Regions from separate parts of the Homo sapiens genome. Here all the other regions are linked to region 2. The links are contacts of gene promoters, found by promoter capture Hi-C in blood cells and fetal thymus (Javierre and others, 2016). All regions are on one chromosome and are shown on one strand. The core of a region is centred on a gene start or on the middle of the fragment in contact, and the rest is flanking DNA. Distances in the headings are between cores, read along the strand shown.

Region 1 (3,412 bases), core at 139-2,638, 2.1 Mb after region 2:
TAGTAGTTGTAATGGGTGGTGGATGCATCCTGAGAAATAGCTGTCGCCTTGAGCCTGTTAGAACAGATACTAGCTGTAATTTATGAAACTGTCCTCTATACAGTAAAAAGTGTGTGTGTGTTTTAAAAGGCTTCAAAAATAATTAGCTCTGTTAATGAAACTGAATATTCACAATCACTGTTAACAAAGAAAAGCAGGTTGATTGGCCAATATTTAGGGAACTCCAATATTAATTCTTCACAGAGTGACTCTTAAATGAAATGACTCTAAGGTGTGCTTCAGATTTTTGAAACATTTCACATACATAAAAAAATTTTTTGTTGTTTATTTTGGTGCTACTTTCCAGATGACGATTTTATGGGCTCTGATATGTGACTGTTGTACTTCCAAATTAACTTTTCTGAATGCCAGAGTCTTACCTGAAACTCTAAATTGTAATCTAGAATATAATGTTTTCTAGAAGTAGTTGTTCAAGGACCTGTAATTATCTTTCAGGGGCTACTGTATCTTAACCGCATTCAATGTGCCTAAGAGTTAGGAGAGAGTAAAGGTTGACCTCTGCCACCTTTGAAAGTTTGAAGGGATAAAAATATCAGTGGTGACAACCACAAGCTTTGCTACGCATTGTCCTAGGCTTACTGTAAGAGGAAAAAGTGCTTTGTCATTTTTCACATAGGGATGTCTCGCTTTTACAAATCTATGGGAGTTTCCAAAACCTCTGTCTCCTAGTCAATAGAAGCTGTTAGTCTTGCTCACCTCCTAAACCACAATTTGGTAATTCTGACAGTTCCGTTGCTTTATCCTTTCCACTTCTGTTTGTCTCCCAGATTAGTGTTTCCTAACTTTTACTCAAACCCACCCTTAAAATACACATTGCTTCGGGTACTATGTACATAGAGAAAAAAGTTAATGAAATCGTACTCTTAACTACCTGTGCACTCAGATGTTTTCTATTTATTCCTCCTCTTTCTCACCCTTCCCTTCTTCATTTGCTGGTCTGGACTCATTAAATAAATTTTGGATCCACTAATAAATTGCAGTCCTTAGCTTGAAAAACACTACCCAAGATGAAGCCTTAAAATATAGTTTAGAGGCCAGGCGTGGTGACTCAAGCCTGTAATCCCAGCACTTTGGGAGGCTGAGGCGGGTGAGTCTCCTGAAGTCAGGAGTTTGAGACCAGCCTGGCCAACATGGCGAAACCCCGTCTCTATTAAAAATACAAAAATTAGCCAGGTGTGCTGGTACATGCCTGTAATCCCAGCTACTCAGGAGGCTGAGGCAGGAGAATCACTTGAACCAGGAAGGTGGAGGTTACAGTGAGCCAAGATTGCACGATTGTATTCTAGCCTGGGTGACGAGTGAAACTCTGTCTCAAAAAATAAATAAATAAATAAATGTAATTTAGAATGTTTCTTGTTTGTATATCATTTTACAATAAACTTCAAGAGTTGCAGATGGTTAATTTTTGGTTACTTGCTGCCAGAGCATTTGATAGTCGTAGAACTGTTCACAGCATATACTGATTGACTTGTGATAAAATTCATTTTTAAACTGGTTTTCAGCTTATTACAGTCAAGAGTCTTTACTGTTCACAGTAGTATTCTAGATGTTGTGGTAGCCTAAAATAATCTTTTTACTTTGCATATATGTAATGGATGAATCTTTTCCCATGAATTTTATGGAATGTTCAGTAGCACTTAATAACTGGTTTAAGGGTAGACAAGAAATTCCAATTTTAGAAAGGTTGTAGAAGTAACTGGAACATGAGGGAAAAATCTAAACCAGATACCAATTACTTCTTACAAAGTCAAGTTTGATTACATAAAATGTGTTGAATAAAATTGAATTAATTGCTTAACATAAACCCTTCCTTGAGTTCAGAATCTAAATTATATCCATATCCTTGGGAGAATATGAAGGTGGGCAGCACATTCCACAAAATTCTAGGTGGTTATCAGGGCAGAAAGTATTAAACAAGCACTGTTAACTGTATTCTAGATAGAGTATGGAGGAGATTTGAATGATGTATGGTAAATGATTTATAAGGTTCCTAGAAAGTAAAATTTCTTTTGAAGAACATAAAAGGGATTTTAGCCTGAAAAGTGAGCAGCAGTTAAAGAAAATGTTGAGATTTACTTTTGTAATTAGAAAATTTAAAGCTTATTAAAATATTAAGGGAACAAGAGGGCCTTTTTGTGTTTCTGATATGAGATGTTGTTCCTTTTTTTTTTCCCCACTTTACCAGTGATACCACAATTTAAGGGGTGAAAGTTCAGTAAAAATATATATGAAATATAAGTGAGAATTATATAGATTTAAGTAAACATAGAATATTTTTATTTTAGATATTAATCCTGTTCTTACTGCAAGTCTTTATAAGAAGAGGAAGGTTGTTCTAAATTTAGGAATTGGAAGTTGATGATCTCTAATTTCTAAGGTTACCTTTCTTTTCTGTTTTTCTTCTTTTCTCCTTATCACTCCCTGCTTTTTGAGAGAGTTAAGTAATAGATGTACATTATTTATTCCCATTTTCTAAAATTTAGGATTAGATCCTGCAAATACAAATTACCAATGTATCTATTCAAATACATGTTATCAGAGTCTCTTCTTTTTAAGTATATATAAATATATTATTTCAATACTGTATTAGCTTAGGGAATTCTTACTGTCTAAGTTATAGAAGGGAAGGAAGGAAACTAACATTAAATTAAGTTTAATAGCACTTATTTACTTACAAGTACTTAATACTTACATTGAAAGATGCGTGATTAGTCTTTATTTATTGCCAATTAATCTTTAGTAGGTCTTATTTGGCAATCCTGTCAGATATGTACTCTTTCTTTTGTTTTATGGAAGAGAACATTGAAACACAGAAATATTGTGACTTAACTGAAGTCAAACCAGTATGAAGTAGTAGAGTCAGGATTGTAGCCTAACCCTGGCTGTCTCTTCACTTAGTTCATTTAGCAAATATTTATTGAGCCCTTGCTTATGTCTAGCACTGTGTTAGATAAAACCTGATGCACATAGTTTCTGCCCTCATGGAGCTTATAGTCTAATGAATAAGTTGTAATAAGTGCTCTCAAAGAAACAGACATGGGGCAGAGATAGTGAGTAACAGGCACAGAGTAATTAGGGGAAGACTTTTTCATGAAGGGACGTTTATGAGACCTAAAGCATAGCTAACTGTGTTATGGTTGGGTAAGAAAGCTTTACATATGAGAACAATGCATGAAAGGCCCAGGATCAGGAAAGAGCTGGTATGTTGCAGATAAATTACTAAAAACACTGTAACTGGAACATAATGGTTGTAAGGGAGAGTGACAGGATGAGATTAGAGCAATACTTAGAAACTCTAGGATTTAGAATCCATGGTAAAGAGTTTGGGTTTTATTTTAACTATTTAAGTGAC
Region 2 (3,306 bases), core at 742-3,241:
TCAGATACACGTGTTTGGCCATATTTATTAAAATACTAACCATATTCCTTTTTAGTTAAGTTACCCCACATATTTCTGAATTCTCCACCCATTTCAAGGCTGGTCACACATCAACTGTTTTCAATTAGGCTACTGAAAACTCATTTTAAAAAGTCCTTGATTTGAACACTTTAAAGTCCCTTTCCTATGCCTGGTCCCACCTTTAAGAGGATTCTGCATTTGGTTAACGTCCTTCAGAGCAGAAACAAAAGTATTCCCCTCCCCTTTTCATTTCCTAATTCCATAAACAGCATTTCTAAAGATAAAAAATATTTTATGTAAAGTAAGGAAAATTTATTTTAAAGGGCTATGCTAAAATGAGACTTTAATATTTCTTCAAAGCTTAAATTACATACCTACACACATAGATCAAAAATGTCCTCACTGTTTTACTGCTTTAAAACAACTGGCAGGGCCCAGCATGGTGGTTCAGGCCTGTAATCCCAGCACTTGGGAAGGCCTAGGCAGGAGGATCACTTGAGGCCAAGAGTTAAGACCAGCCTGGGCAACACAGCGAGACTCCATCTCTACAAAAATAAAGTAAGATAAAATTTAAAATAAAATGACTGGCACGATGTGGAGTTATAAACAGATTTTACACACTTTGTGCCTATCTCTATTTTCTAAACTCTCTAATGCTCATTTATTTTCATAACCCTCAAATATTAAAGCAATTAACAAAAATAAAAATCAGACATGGCTAGGATGTCTGCTACCTGTTAAACGAAGCCAAGGACACTGGAAGTTACCCTATGCATTATGCTAAAACTGTTCAGCAGCACTTTCAAAAATTCTTTAAGTTATCAATATCATGTCGCTACAAATGACTGTTTTAAAGAATGGTACAAAGCCACTGTGGTGAAAAAAATCGGCCAACACAACACAAAATAAACAGGAACTGAGAAAGTTTCTAGGTTCTGCCACCACAAGACAACGTGCAGCCGTTCAAAAAGTACACGACGCAAAATGTCAACTAGCTTCCAATGTTAATGAAGTGTTTTATTTTACAAAGAAGTATCTGGCTTTTTATTTTTCGGTTAGGAAGTGAATCCTAACAACTGAGAAATATTAAGGAAAGACTGACCCAAACCAAAACCAAAGCAGGCACAGCGCTCTTCAAGAATCCAAGACTGAAAACACGGACGTCATAACTGGTTCAGTCTTCACCTCCCAGTGGGAGGGAAAGAGAGAATGGATCGTCCCCTTGAAATACTTGGCGGGGAAAGAAAATCAAGTCTAGGTGAGGAAAGCAGGAAGAGCAGAGCAGGAAGAGCTGGCACGCAGCTGAAAGTCTTCCCTCCCCAGAGCCGAACGAGTCCTTCCTTCCTCGCCCCCGGCGGCCGCCACCCCGGCCACGTTGCCCGCCCCGGCCCAGGCACACCTGCCAGAGCCGGGCAGCGACCCCCGCCCGGCGCCACGACCGCCGCCTCCCCACAGCCCTCAGCCCAGGTCGGCCGCGCGGGAGGCGAAAGAAAGGTGGGCTCACCAGGTCCCTCCGGGCTGGACGGCGCCGGGGGCCGGTGGGGCGGGGACCCGCACCCGAGGTCCCCCTGGGCTGGCTCCCTCAGGTAATCTTCGAAGCGCACCTGCCGGGCTTCGCCGCCGCCCCCGAACCCCAACAGGCGGTTGGCCGTGCCCCGCAGAAGGCGCCCACTCTTCTCGGTGAACGTCGTCAGGTAGTCCATGCTGCCGCGGGGCTGGACGCGGAACTGGGGCCCAGGAGGTCGACGGTTTCGGCGGTGGCGGCCACCACTAGCGCGCCCACCGGCCCATCAGACCTGACCCAGGGGAGGCGGCTCCGCGCGCCTCACAAGAGGCGGGGAGGAGGAGGGGGCGTCCCTCTCTCTGCCCGGGGACGGACCATCAGGAAACCACGCGTCGGGGGAGCAAAAGACGGACAAAAGTTTTCGAAAAGTTTTTCTTGTGGCTTCTAAATGCAAAATGAGGCAGAACTTAGCTTGTCACATAGGTGTATTCTTCCTGGAACCGATGCGGGGTCAGAAAACTGATGGCTTTTAAGCAAGCTGGACGGGTCCTCTCAGCGCATTCCCCCACCCGCCTGGCGCCAATGGAGCTGGCCTGGCCCGCCCAGCCCCTCCCCGCCCCGTCCGCGCTCGGACCGGACTTTCAGGACTGCAGGGGAAAGGGTGGACACCCAGCCTCCCGCCAGGTCAGAGCAGAGGCTAAAAATGGCCCAGGGGAGACTGCTGGAGTTGCATGGAGTTCGGGAGCCTAGGAGGGGTCTGAAAATAACTGTCAAAAAGTTTGAAGGGTGTGTGTTGGCTTGGGGAAAAAAGAGGGTGGAGTGCATTACATAAAACTTTTGCAGCTTGTATTTCCTTTTTTTTTTTTTATGTTTAAGGACGGCGGAGATACCTTCAACGTAAGACTGCAATCATAATTAAAACATGAATAGTAACATTTTAAGTTCGTTGTGCCATTATGAACTCATGTTAGTGTTGGACATTCTATGATCCCAGTCCTGTTTAGGCAACGTTATTGAGGGATTTAGTTTGCGGATCTACCTTTCAGGGACAAAGAACCTAGACAGGGAAAGAACAGTAACTTTTGACAGAAATTTTGCTTCCTGTGAGATGTGGTTATTCTCTTCCTTTCACATCTGTTTGTAGTTCTTTTAGTTTTCCCAGGCATTAAATAAATTAAACCCTCTTTCTTGGAATCACCAATATATTAATATATTGGGGGGAAAAAGATTTGAATTACTTAGGAAGTTGATGAACTACCCACTCCAACAATAGAGCCCTGAAAATCAGGCTTAAGCTTTTGGCCATACTACTAAAGACTATCCCTCCTGACAAACACACACCCTCTTTTTTTTTTTTTTTTTTTAACTGGTTGACAGATCTTTTTTGCATCATCACCATTTTCAGTTTAGATTCTTACTAGGTGGGATAAATTTCACCATTCTAATATCAGCCATCACCATTATGCCTGGTGAAAAATACAGAATGTCTGGGCTGCATCCTCAGAGTGTCTAATTCGGTGTTTATGGGAAAGGGACCCAGGAGAATCTGCATACCCAGCAATCCATGTTTTCAGGGTTGTGGCTTGGGAAAGAACTGTTCCAGACTTCTGCACTTCCTAAGGACCTATTTTGTAGATGTTGCAGTGGACGGAATGTTTGTGCTTTCCCTTAAATTCATTTGTTAAAATCCTAACCCCAATGTGATGGTATTAGGAGATGGGGCCTTTGGGAGGTAATTCATAGCATAGAGGCCGCATGAATGCGATTAGTGCCCTTATAAA
Region 3 (3,575 bases), core at 515-3,014, 2.9 Mb before region 2:
TGTTCCTCACATGCACCCTGGACTTGCCCTTCTTTCAACCTGAGATGTTCTTTCCTTCAGTGCTTCTCTCTTTGCAGCCTGATTCTTCTTTTTATCTTGTATGCTATGAAAGGGGTTGTTATGTGCAGGGGACCCTCAGAATACTATGCTCCACAGTTGCAAAGTGACTGGTGAGGGAGAAGTGAATAGGGTCTAAGGCCAAAATCAGTTTATGCAAATTGTTCTCAACAAGCCTTTTTCTTTATATGCCTTTAATTTTTTTTTTTATTACAGCTGCCTTTGTTCTCCCACCCTGACCCAGCAACCACCTACCCACTTAACTTTGTGATAATCTACCACAACCGTCCTCTTTCCAATTTGCACCACGTTTTTTATTAATAATTTAATTTCCAAGACGGGAAAGATGTGTTTATGGCTCGTGCTCTGGAATGGTTCTGTGTAAAGTTGGGTAAAATTATTTAATCTGTTCACCTCAATTTCCTCATCAGTAAAATGGCCATAATAGTGCCTACTTCATGCAGTAGTAATGCTTGCAAAGCTCTCTTAGCACAGAGCCTGGCACATAGCAAACATTCATAGATAACAGTTGTTGCTGCAGCTACTACTACTACTGCATTACTATTGCATTACTACAGTATCATTTCCGGTAATTGCATTTCCCAAAGGCCATGCAACCCCTTTCAGTCCCTTAAACACCTGCTCTAACTTTAATCTCTAGAATTCTAATGCCTAAATTTCAATATAAAATTTCTAAATTTTTTTTGGATTTAAAAAATCGAGTTATCTAGCTGGGCACGGTAACTCATGCCTGTAATCTCAGCACTTTGGGAGGCCGAGGCAGGAGGAACGCTTGAGCCCAGGAATTTAAGACCAGCCCAGGCAACGGGCGAAACTCCGTTTCTACAAATAATTTAAAAATTAGCCAGGTTTGGTGGCGCATGCCTGTAGTCCCAGCTACTCAGAAGGCTGAGGTGGGAAGAATCACCTGAGCCTGGGAGGTCGAGACTACAGTGAGCCATGATTGGGCCCTGCACTCCAGCCTGGGAGACAGAGCAGGACCCTGACTCAAAAAAAAAAAAAAAAAAAATCCAAAATAACCTATATTCGGATATAAACGTGTTTAAATTTTTTTTCTTAAAGAGTTGATTGCTTTAGACAATTTATTATGCCCAAGGATATTTTCTTCTTTTTCCTGATTCTTCAGTTTTCTTTATTAAATTTGCCATTTCCAAATGAAACAAAACGAAATGTATATACTTTTCCAGAAACAGCTAGTTACTGAGTACTTGTTTCCCAACACAATAGCAAAACAGAAAACAAAGCTCGCTAAAGACTGCAAATTTAAAATTTACTTTAGTAATACCTATAAAATAATATTTTAAAATCATCTTTACTTGTTAAATAGTAAGCCCATAATTGGGATCACAAGTCAATAATTTGGGATTGGGTTTAGGGACCACCTCTTGGGAACAGGGAACTTTAAGTCCTGTCCTCTCCCCAAAGCTTGTGTGGGACGGGGGTAGGAAACCACCAGATGTCAAATGGGAGGAACATAAGGGATAGAACCTGGCATATGAATTTCTTTTACTCAATGGAATATAGTAAATTCTGTCTGCTCTGTGTCCAAACCATTTTGCTCACTTTAACGCTTCTGATCAGCCTCTGCCCAATTACCAGCTTGATTTATTCACACTATCAACCTCCAGCCCACCACTTACTCTCCCCTTTCAAAGCCTACATAGGCTTTGTTCTGACTTCTCCAGCTGGGGCTAACTCTGGCCTTGTCACCTGACCTGGCCCAGGAGGTAGGAGCAGACTGCAAACACAGCCCTCTGCTTCCAGATCTTTCCCAACCCAGTTCCCTGGCTTTTCATCAAAGGGTGGGTTTTTTTTCCCTCAAACACAATTTTAGACCTGCTGTTCTGACTTGGACTTTAATGGCTTTTTATTAATGAGCAGCTGTTCACAGTTGAATACAAGATCATAAAGTCACATTCATTTCTTGATCAAGTAAAACAAAGCTTTGCCGCACATAGAGTGACATCTTTGAGCAGATACATTTGAAAGCATAGGATTTTCTGATGAGAATTTTAATGAATTGTTTTATTAATCTTCCTACTGGAGAATTTTACTTGCTTTCAAAATAATAAACATTAATATTCTGGAAAATTATAACTTCTTTTTTAATACTCAAAATCACCATATACTAGTTAGGGTCAATTGCCTAATAGAGAAATCAAACAGTCTGAAGCAGATTTTTTATTTCTTTTCTATTAAATGAAAATTAACTTTCTATGAAGCATTTAAATAAATTTTTCCTCATAATTGTTATTACAATTAGCAGTAACTTTTATTGCTAAATACAGGAAGATTCAAAATTTAGTAACAATTTAGAGTTAACCAGTTTTCTTCAGAAGGGGCCTGGTTAGAAATCAAGAAAAATAATACATATATTTTAGTAGAAATAAATTCAAATGAAAAGATGAGGTGAATTCTCATTTTGTGTTCAGTGGTGAGGTTCAGCCACATCATACTTCTGGCTAATGTCCACATCGTTATTAGATTTATGACAGAGTTCAGCTATATTATGAATTAAGTAGAGTTGATGGGAACAGCATCTGGCAGTCTAAGACCTTTTGTTATTTCTAACAGTAAATGTATTGAAATTCATACAACCAACATAAAACAGTAGTTTGTAAATCTATCTTGTACATGGATTGAGAAAGTAGAAATAAAACAACATGAAACAATGTGAGACTCATTCATTGAGCTACAGCATGATGGACATCGTGACTTTGACCTTGAACAACTTTAAGCCTCAGTTTTCTCATCTGCAAAATTAGGTTAGTAATTCCTGCTTTACGGATTTATTTTGCAAATTAAATATCATACCATATGTGGAAATGTGTTGGAAACACAGCAATAAAATCGGTGAAACCTTTGAAGCAGGCAGATTTGTTATCTTCAAGATCAGTACAATCCCCTTTAGCTCACAACATGGAATAGTGCTTCCAAGAAATAGAGGTGAATTTTATGTCATCAGCAACCAGAAGTAGACATGTCTACTAGCAATATATTAACAAAGGGAAACAGGGAGGGACAGCCAGAAGTCAACCCTCCATACCCCCGCTTCTACCTTCTTTGTTCCCTTCTTTGTTCCCTTTGTTTTAAAGGCATAGGATGAAAGAGCAGCTGTCAGAACTATGACACTTACAATCCTTCCCCTCTCTCTCCAGGCTTTTATGTACTACTCATGGGATATTTATTTCATACCAAGATCTGTTGCCAAGTTTTGTCTATTCTTTCTTCTCAGTGTCCATCATTTCAGCACATCTGGATATCAAAATGATCTGCTAACTTAGTCTTTTGTATTTTACTATTTTCCTTCCTCTAAGTCAGTTTGTTACTTTGCTGTCTGATTAATATAAATATTGTTACACCTTCTTCATAGTAACTGACCTTTTTAAATTTTCCAGTGTCTAATTCAAATTCACTTAGGAGGATATGTGTCTTGATTGTTGCTTTTTAAACTCTTAATTTTGAATTGTTTGTTTGGGGATCTCCCTCTAACCACC
Region 4 (3,666 bases), core at 246-2,745, 2.9 Mb before region 2:
TGTATACATATGTAACTAACCTGCATGTTGTGCACATGTACCCTAAAACTTAAAGTATTAAAAAAAAAAAAAGAAATAGGCTTTCTAATAAATGTGAATTGTATCACCTAATTTTAACTATAGGAATCTAAAAAGTAGTTTAATCTCCAAAAGCATAAATCTTAACATACTTTCTGAGTTTTCCTAATAGTTGGTGTCATGTCCTTAAAATAGTCAGGTTCCAGTTGTTCCAAAGAATTTTGTTGTGTTGCCACATTCCCATTCCCTCCTTCGATCTTTACACTGGTGGGTGCATCTTCATCCCAGGAAGTCCACTCTTCAACATCTGTCTAAATTTAATTGATCAACATTATCAGCCACAAAGGGGCAACTTAATGAACACATCATTGATGATTTATTAGAAAAATGGGCTTTCTAAAACACTGGTTTTCAAACTTTTTTAACCCACGGGAAAACATACATTTCATATCACAGATCAAAACTTGATCAAAAGTTCAAAAAATACAAGACATTCTGATATATTCTGTTCTATTTTATTCTATTATGTCCATCAAAAAACAAAAAACAAAGTAAAACGAAAGCAAATGCTCTGAAAACTGAACTGACATTAAAACTACAACTCACAGAAGGGCTGGACATTTTCACCCAAGCCTATCCAGATTGATCATCTGATAAAAAATACCAAGCTTCTCCACAGGATTTAAATAAGATGAAGTCTCAAAACATAGTATTCAAAATGTTCATGAAACAACCCAGAATTATTCAGCATATAAAAACAATACATCTAAATTTGCAAGGCAAGTTAATCAACAGATACCAACACCAAAATGATATGTTGGAATTCTCTAAGGCTTTAAAATAGCTATTATAAAAATGCTCCAACAAACAATAGCAAACACTTGAAACCAATGAAAACACAATAGAAAATGTCAACAAAGAAACAGAAGATAAAATGTAGAACCAAATAGAATTTTCAGACCAGATAAATTTAACAACACAACAAAAATTAATTTCTATTAATGATCTGCAATCCAGTTTTTAAAATATTGTTCTAGGACACTTATTCAATCTTTCAAAACAAAACAAAACAAAAGAACACACAAAAAAAACCTACCTGCTTAGGAACTGATGAATAATCAACTGTAGTTGGCAAAGTTATTTGGTCTCCACTTAATTTCCGTCCTCTGCCAGATCTGAAACAAAAATGAAATAATTTATTTCAAGAACCACCAAAACAAGCAAAGTAAAAGCACTATTATGTATGGTAATTGAAGGCTTATAAAACAAGATCTTTCTCAATTTTATGATTATTGATTTTAGTAACAGTTACTCACTAATTTATGGTAAAAAAAAGTCATAAATCAGACATCCTGTGAATGTTTTTTAAATCTTGGACAGAACAACATAACTGCTTTTTGGCTTAGGACTCAGAATTATAAACAAACTCAAGAGGAATATAAAGTCAAAAATAAAAATGCAAGACGGTTTCAGAGCATGCTCCTTGGAGTGCTGTGGGTTCTGTGGGTGAAGTTCTGGGCCACCTTTGCTGTTTTAAACAGGGTGGCTTGGCTTTTATGTTTTACACATGGGGTTTCTTGATAAGATTAACTATTAAGAAGTTTAAAAATCACTAGTTTGAACCAAATGGTAACTTACTTTTAAGGATTAGTAGGAAAAGTACCACATTCAACAGGACGTACTATAACTCAGTTGTTAAGAACATGGGCTGTGGAATCTGTGTAAACCACAGTTTTCAATGTTACTTCTATTATGTCTAGTTAGAATTACCTACTTTTCAGCCTCAACAGCCTCATCTATAAAATGCAGGTATTCAAACCCACTTTTGCAGGGTTGTTTGGATTTAATTAAGTGACATATTTAAAAACCCTAGACAGTGTGTGCCTGCTACATAGCACAACATACAAAAAATGGCAGGTAATAGAGATAATTAGTCATTTACTTCACTTCAAATAATCTATAAAAAAAAAAAGCATCAACTAAGAACTAAGAACGATAAAGTCAGCTATTTTTATTACAGATTCAAAGCTATATTTGTTTAAAGGGTGAATAGAAAAGTAATATAGTCCTTTATGAAATTTATGATACAAGCGTGTTTTTCCTTTCCATAGAGATGGGGTCCTGCTGTGTTGCCCAGGCTGGTCTTGAACTCCTGGCCTCAAGCTATCCTACCCCCTCGGCCTCCCAAAGCATTGGGATTACAGGCATGAGCTACCATGCCTAGCCAAGTCTGGTATTTTAAAATACATGGTCTAAGGTTCCTTCAGACACCAAAGAGAAGCTTATCCTAACATATGGTCAGTTTTCTTTAAAACTGAACATACAATCAATTCTAAATATGTATACATTTACAACAGAAATTTATAGTGCCAATAGGAATGTCCTTAATATTTTTACATCAAGAAAATTTCTTATCCTAGAAGTAATCTATATTTAATGAAAATTTTAAAAAATAGAAGTATAAGAAGAAAACATCTACATTTCATCACCACTGTTAACACAATGCTTCTTTTAACTTCCTGCCTTCTGGCAATTAATACCCATTTTTAATGTTGCTTTACCTGGTGAATTTCTGGCCATTCTCTTCCTCATTCTCTGGTAATTTGAACACTTAGTTTGCTCCTTTTTCTACTTCCCAAATCCTATCCTCTTGGGTGATTTCAAGTCAACCACCTAAATTTTCCATTTCTTTCTTCACTTCTGCCCCAGTGATCATCCAGAGATGATCATTTCACCCACTTGTTCTCTTGCAATACCCTGGATTTTTTTTTTTTTTTTAAATCCCAGACCACTCTACTTTTAGCAATAAGTTCAATTTAGCAGCTATCAAATGGTCATATAGCCAGAGACTGCAGTTCCTATCCTTCCTTGCAGCTAGGGGGCCATATGACTAAGCTCTGGAAAGCAGGCAGTGCAAAAATTGTTGTGTGTAACCTCTAAGTCATGTCTATATATATTAAAAAAAGAGCTGATTGCTGTCCATTTCCTCTTTTACTATACCCTCCTCTTAGTATGTAAGTAACTTTTTCACAGTACCCTTAGGCCACAGAAACACCTAACAATTCCACTGAATAAGGTAGTTACACCCAAAAAACTTAAGTATATCCTAACTGCTTAGTAGCCATTGTAAAAAATACACATTTAAAGAAAAAGTAATATTTTTATTTTATTCTTAAATAACCACAATCACTGAACTTATTAATGAAATTTGTGTGCCTGTTGAACACTGCACAGCTTCTTATGCCTTAGAATAAGACTGGAGACCATCATTCTTGTTTTCAGTTCTACATTAATTTTGGTGCAGTACTCGCTTTTAATTACAACCTAAAATCCTGGCTTTGCAATGAGATGTCACCAAAAATATAAGTAAACAAAAACTTATCTCAAACATTAAAGAACACCATCATAAAAAAATACTGCAGGATTTAATGTTGCAAATGTGAACTACTTTGAGTTGAGGTATTCAACAGATGCTATCACTATGTTTCACTGCAAAATTTAAAATATTCTATGGCATCCCTGTGAATTTCATGTAAAGCCCTGAGGTGCCTCAGCACACATTTTAGACATCATAGCTCTTGGGTATGATCGTGTGACAAAACAGAAGGAACTGAAGTCTACAGATGATGTCCTAAAGCAAATGACTTA

What was found. Contacts are between HindIII fragments. The CHiCAGO score rates a contact against its expected background, and 5 or more counts as called.
Region 1: a fragment that was not itself captured here is called in contact with the fragment with the promoter of OXR1-AS1 in region 2 in 1 of 17 cell types (fetal thymus); the score reaches 6.1 in fetal thymus.
Region 3: a contact is called between a fragment that was not itself captured here and the fragment with the promoter of OXR1-AS1 in region 2, in 3 of 17 cell types (non-activated CD4 T cells, naive CD8 T cells and total CD8 T cells). The highest score is 8.8, in non-activated CD4 T cells.
Region 4: a contact is called between a fragment that was not itself captured here and the fragment with the promoter of OXR1-AS1 in region 2, in 1 of 17 cell types (non-activated CD4 T cells). The highest score is 7.3, in non-activated CD4 T cells.

Annotation. Positions count from the first base shown.
Region 1 is chr8:104,583,206-104,586,617 of GRCh38, reverse strand. All of the region lies in intron 1 of LRP12 (LDL receptor related protein 12), which reads left to right. Among named protein-coding and RNA genes, the nearest start is that of LRP12, 4.3 kb to the left of the region's middle. The HindIII fragment of the contact is 1,547 bases long and covers 615-2,161 here.
Region 2 is chr8:106,656,405-106,659,710 of GRCh38, reverse strand. OXR1-AS1 (OXR1 antisense RNA 1) reads left to right here and starts at 1,991. Exons shown (of 3, transcript XR_007061059.1): 1 at 1,991-3,306. The region is part of intron 3 of OXR1 (oxidation resistance 1); the gene reads right to left. RefSeq lists silencers at 1,381-1,530, 1,571-1,820 and an enhancer at 1,891-2,100. The HindIII fragment of the contact is 2,439 bases long and covers 384-2,822 here.
Region 3 is chr8:109,535,560-109,539,134 of GRCh38, reverse strand. PKHD1L1 (PKHD1 like 1) reads right to left here. Exons shown (of 78, transcript NM_177531.6): 78 at 1,928-3,575. Among named protein-coding and RNA genes, the nearest start is that of EBAG9UORF, 2.4 kb to the left of the region's middle. The HindIII fragment of the contact is 518 bases long and covers 1,506-2,023 here.
Region 4 is chr8:109,551,392-109,555,057 of GRCh38, reverse strand. It overlaps EBAG9 (estrogen receptor binding site associated antigen 9), which reads right to left. Exons shown (of 7, transcript NM_004215.5): 3 at 1,115-1,193; 4 at 171-329. Among named protein-coding and RNA genes, the nearest start is that of EBAG9, 13 kb to the right of the region's middle. The HindIII fragment of the contact is 1,613 bases long and covers 689-2,301 here.